2 separate regions of the Homo sapiens genome follow, and region 2 is linked to region 1. The links are contacts of gene promoters, found by promoter capture Hi-C in human tissues and cell types (Jung and others, 2019). All regions are on one chromosome and are shown on one strand. The core of a region is centred on a gene start or on the middle of the fragment in contact, and the rest is flanking DNA. Distances in the headings are between cores, read along the strand shown.

Evidence for each region. Contacts are between HindIII fragments. The study calls those that stand out against the background at their distance.
Region 2: a contact is called between the fragment with the promoter of DENND4A here and the fragment with the promoter of SPG21 in region 1, in 1 of the 25 tissues and cell types used here (hippocampus).

Annotation. Positions count from the first base shown.
Region 1 is chr15:64,988,539-64,991,238 of GRCh38, reverse strand. SPG21 (SPG21 abhydrolase domain containing, maspardin) reads left to right here and starts at 1,325. Exons shown (of 9, transcript NM_016630.7): 1 at 1,325-1,574. RefSeq lists enhancers at 892-951, 992-1,061, 1,117-1,616, 1,617-2,118 and silencers at 1,132-1,621, 1,742-1,791, 1,594-1,888. The HindIII fragment of the contact is 3,841 bases long and covers 407-2,700 here.
Region 2 is chr15:65,791,038-65,793,737 of GRCh38, reverse strand. DENND4A (DENN domain containing 4A) reads left to right here and starts at 1,445. Exons shown (of 33, transcript NM_001320835.1): 1 at 1,445-1,728. It overlaps LOC105370866 (a long non-coding RNA gene), which reads right to left and starts at 1,265. Exons shown (of 3, transcript XR_932372.2): 1 at 966-1,265. RefSeq lists enhancers at 749-1,368, 592-1,557 and a silencer at 1,559-1,888. The HindIII fragment of the contact is 3,785 bases long and covers 272-2,700 here.

The DNA.
Region 1 (2,700 bases), core at 76-2,575:
GTCTCCCAGGTTGCCCAGGCTAGTCTCGAACTCCTGGGCTCAATCAAGCGATCCGTCCACCTTGGCCTCCCAAAGTGCTGGGATTACAATCAATATACATTTAGTACCTATTATTTATGGGCTAATCATGTGCTAATGGACTGGTGGAATCACTCTATTCCCTTTGCTCTAGATTGAAGCTTCGAGACCACCTGGGAAAATAGACAACTAATGTAATGAATATCCATAACCAGTTTCAGAGACAACCAGTAGTTTGCAAGTTATTCCACCCATTAAACGATTCCAAATGTTGGAGAAAAGGCCCCCAACTTAAAATACTCCACGGAAACGTGCTCTATACATCTATGTGGTGCTTACAATAAAAGATGAATTCCTGCGACTGAGTTGCAACCCCGAAAGAAATGATTTAGAGAAAAAAAGAAAGAAAGAAAAAGGTAAGTATGTCACCGTGCTTTTGGAAAATGCTTTTGGGATTTGTCCAAGTTCTAGAGTGGAACCCAAGGCTCCTGGGCCAGGGGACAGAAGTGATAACTAAGTAGGATGCAATTTAGTTGGAATCTTCCCTGACCTTAATCCCATAAACAGTTGCCTAGGTAAAGGCAAAGTCTACAGGCCCTAAAACAGGGTACAAGCTTTCCCTAAAACATATTAGAGAGAGGCACTTTCAACAGGACCTTGTTGCAGGATCCCTAAAAAAAAAATTCAAAACAAGGAGATTTACATGTTATTCACCTTATCATAATTTCAGAAATATTTTACTAATAAAAAAGGAGTCGTGAAGTCTGGAACACCTTAAGACGTGACGTCTGCAACACCTTAAGAACAATGATTACAAATGTATTAATATTCTCTCTGATTTTAAGGGAAAAGTGATGAAGGAACAGGAAGATGGGTGGGCGTATGTTCCCAGAAATCCCCAGAACGTCAAAAAGGAAGCGGAGGCTTTGAGTGGAGGACTACGGAGAGCGTCTACGGTTGTGCCAAAGGAAAAAAAATGTTCCTAAGAAAAGAGTATACAAAGTTGTGTTCATCAAAGTCTGGAACCCAAAGGTGTCCCTCCAAAGCTGTACACGACAGAGAAAACGCGAACTGAAAGAAGAAGCAGGTCCCAAGGGGCCAGGCGCCTCCTCCACCTCCTCCTCCTCCTAGGTACGTAGGGCAGAACTAAGGCTGACCCAGACGTAACTCAGCCCTCTCCTCACGCCAGCCGCAGCCAAGCATCCCACGGAGCCTCCCCCCGCGCCCGTCGCCGTGGCGACCGCCGGGGCCACGCAGCACCGCCCCTTCCTCGCGACGTGGCCCCGCCCTCTGAGAACCCGGAAGCGGGAGTCTCGCGCCAGCTGAGCGGCGGTCGGGCGGGGGGAGCGCGGCGGCCCAAGCTCGCTCGGCCACGCGCCCCGCCCCCTCAGAGGCCGGCCTCCCGCACGCACCGCGCAGCCTGCTGTGCCCGTGGGTCCCGAGTGCTCCGCCGCCCGCCCCGACCCGGGCCCAGCCGCCTCCACGGCCCGCGCTCGTACTGGAGCGAAGAGCGGCCTCCTGAAGGAGGGGAAGGGACGTGGGGGCGGCCACGGCAGGTGAGGGTGGGCGAAGCCCTGGGAAGCGGCTGGGTGTGCGGTATGCGGGGTTGTAGGTGTGTGTGTGTGGCGCGTGGCTGCCTTGGTTGGTGTGACTTTGTGAGTGTGTTCTGAGTGGGCCGGTCCATGTGACCACGCACGTGATCACGTGCCCTTGTGAGTGTGTGTCTGGGGCCGAATCTGGGCTGTGGGGTGGTCGGTGTGCTTGTGACCCTGCCTTTGTGTGGCTGTCACCGGTGGGACTGGCGGGGAGCTGTGTGTGAGTCTCCAGCGGGAGGTGGGGGCGGCACAGGGCTTAACCGGGGCATCCTCCTGTAAACCCATCCTGGGGCTACACGACTGCAGCCCAGGAACATTTCTTTCTTTCTTTCTTTCTTTTTTTTTTTCTCAGCAAACTTTTAAGAACTGTGAGCAGAGGCCAGTAATTTTGGAGACAGGACCTCGGCCTGAAAGTGATAGATGTCTTTGTTGTTACTGAGTGTGGGCCAGGTGTAAGGTTTGTAAACGGGGGATGAGGAACAGAGCGGGACCGGAGTGTCTCATTTTTCCTCTTCTCGTTTTCCTGGGGAGTTATAAGTTAGACATTTATGCTGCTTCCTTTGTCTCCACCTACACTGGTTCAGCTCCTTTTGGCACAAAGATTCAACAAATTAAGGAGTAACTTTTTTTTTTTTTTTTTTTTTGAGACGGAGTCTCGCTCCGTCGCCCAGGCTGGAGTGCAGTGGCGCCATCCCAGCTCACTGCAAGCTCTGTCTGCTGGGTTTACGCCATTCTCCTGCCTCAGCCTCCCGAGTAGCTGGCACTACAGGCTCCCGCCACCACGCCCGGCTAATTTTTTGTATTTTTAGTAGAGACGGGGTTTCACCGTGTTAGCCAGGATGGCCTCGATCTCCTGACCTCGTGATCCGCCCGCCTCGGCCTCCCAAAGGGCTGAGATTACAGGCGTGAGCCATCGCGGCTGGCCACTGAGGAGTAACTTAATAGCTGTGTCCAAATTCCAAAAGCTTTTTTCCCAAGAGCATGAGAAGAGATGTCACAGATGTCAGGTAGGCACCTTTTCCTCCTGTAAGGTTTAGAGATAATGCAATGAAGAAAAGAGGGATAGATCTCCCCTGAAGAGATCTAA
Region 2 (2,700 bases), core at 196-2,695, 800 kb before region 1:
GCCTGGGCAACATAGCAAGACTCTGTGTCAAAAACAAGTCTTTTTTTACAGCTTTAACTGACATACAGAGGACTACATATATTTAAAGTATGCAACTCGATTGTTTTGTTTTGTTTTAAAGCAAAATCTTGCTCTGTCACCCAGGCTGGAGTGCAGTGGCACAATCTCGGCTCACTGCAGCCTCCGGCTCTGGGGCTCAAGCGATCCTCCCACCTCAGCCTCTCAAGTAGCTGGGACCACAGGCGCACGCCACCACGCCCGGCTAATTTTTTGTATTTTTGGTGGAGACAGGGTTCTCGCCATTTTGCCAGGCTAGTCTTGAACTTCTGAGCTCAAGCTGACCCTCTTGCCTCGGCCTCCCTAAGCGTTGGGATTACAGGCATGAGCAAAGGCGCCTGGCCTCAGTTATTTTTCTAACCTTTATAGCATGTTTCCCCTTAAAATGTGCTTAAGTACTTTTTTATTGTCCCTCTTCTCCCACTAAACTGCAGTTTCCTGAAGGCAAAGGTTTTCTGTTTCCCTCACCACTGTGCACCCTCTGTATGGATGTTTGTTGACTGAATGAATGAATACAATGAAAGAACTGGAGGTAGGAAATAAAGTTGTAAACTTGGTTAGTAAAAGGCTATGCAATTTAGGAAAAGTTGACTTTAAAGCAGAGGGATTTTGGGGGTCCTGTTTCTTCTTTCATTTGTCCATGGAATAATGTCTAACATTTATTGAGTACTTTCAAGCACTATACTAAGTACTTCACAGGTACTATAGAATTTAACTCCCGAGCAACCCCATGGGGGTAATCAAGCTTTATTAACCTCATCTGTCAACAGCCATCAATGGTGGAGAGCCACAGTCAGGTTTAAGTAGGCCGTATCCAATTAATCCAAAGTAATCGACACCCCGTCAGTCAACAATAGCTGTTTCATCAACGTACTTTTCGGAGAAACCCCCTGAATTCCCCGCTTTACCTTTCTATCTTGGGACCGAAACCTACTCGGCGGTTGCTAACCCTTAAGGGAGTTTCCTGGAGAATGTGAGCACCCTTGGTGGAGGAGCAGCAGCTGCTCAGATCTAGCAAGTCTGAGACGAACCGAGCAAGGCAATCTCAGGACTCCCAGAGTGCCGGGGAGGAAGGAAGAAACAGGTCAGTTGGCGCGAACTGGATTCTTGTGCCTCTGGGTGACGAAAGGTGAAGGGATTGTACGCTTCGCCCACGCCAGCCTGGGGCTCGGGATCTCCTGACCCGACGGGGAACCACGGTGCGTTTCCCCAACTACACCGCACGTCACGGACTAAGGCGACTTAGTCCCGCCCACCTTCACCGCCCCATTATCAGTTTGGCGCTAGGACCCCACGACCCTCAACTCGGCCCTCTCCTCCCACTCGGGCCAGATCCGGCCTTCGATTGGTGCTCGCGGGCGTGATTCCCGCCCCCGCCCCTTCCGTCATTGCCAAGATGGCGCCGGTCGCGGTGGCCGCGGAGGCTAGAGTCGGAGAAAGAGGCGGAGGCAGTGGCGGCCGCGAGGGGAGGGGGAGTCCCGTCTGACTGAGACGGCAGGCCTGGGCGGGCGGGCGGGGGTGCCGCGAAGGGCGGAGCGCCGGGCTGGGGATGAGCTAAGCGGGCTCAGAGCGCCGCGGCATTCAGCCCCTCGTGTTCCGCTACCGCGCGTGCGGGATTCCGGCGCCGCTCTCCGAGCTCGATCCGCTGCTCGCACGGGAGCCAGCTGGGTGGTGAGTGCGGGGGCGGCGACCCGGGCAGCGGTGGCAGGTGGAGCTGTCACGGCCCGGAGAGGTGACAGCCGGGGGCGCGGGAGCGGGGCGGGTGGGTTCGGGGAGGAGGCACGGATGGCCGAGATCTCCGCCCGAGAGCTCCTGAGATCCGGGAGGTGCTCCGCGGCTCGGTCCGCCCCGGGATGGCGCGGCGGTGCTGAGAGTAGCACCCGCGCCTCTGCGTCGGACGCGTGGGGGGCTCCTGTGTTTTCATTCCAGATTTTCTATTCCAGGCTGGCCTGGGGCTGTTGTTATTTGGGAGTGGGGGCGGGGAGGGGGAGGTCCTGGATCTGGGATTTTGACAAGCCCGTTACGTAAGTCGGAGGTGGCTTCCCGGAATCCCACCTGCTCGGTATCTGAGACAGGCGGCGGGGGGAGCCCGGGGTGCCTGCAGGCCCACTTTTCCTCCCAGGGTCTGTTCAGCCTTCCCCGGCCCGCGGGCACGGGTTCTGCGTGAGCGCGGCCAGCGTCCAAGTTGACCAGTTTTTTTTCTAGTCTTTTTGGGGGGGTGTGTGGTGGGGGAAGGGAACTGTTCCTGGTTACCACCATTCCCTTTGAAGTTTATTGTTTTCTGGAGGTGGGGGGCAGGAAAAACAGTAAAAAGCTTGTGACCTAAAATTGGGTCGCAGCGACAGCTTTTCATTATCGTGCTTTTAAATGACAGATGTGCTGGAAGATTGTTGTTGTTGTTCCAATGTGCTTTTAATTCAAACGTATGGTTACGCCTAGAACCGTAGAGAGAGGTTTTTGTCTTATAGGACAGTTATTTCTTGTTTGCAACAGCAGGACAGGCATCAGTCAACAGGCATGTATTTATTTGAGGAGAAAACGCGTGTCAGCCAGCTAGAGACCCGTGAGGGCAGAAATTGTATTACTCTGTGAATATGTTATTCTTTAAAATGTATTATACGTTAATGAAAAGAATAGCCCGAA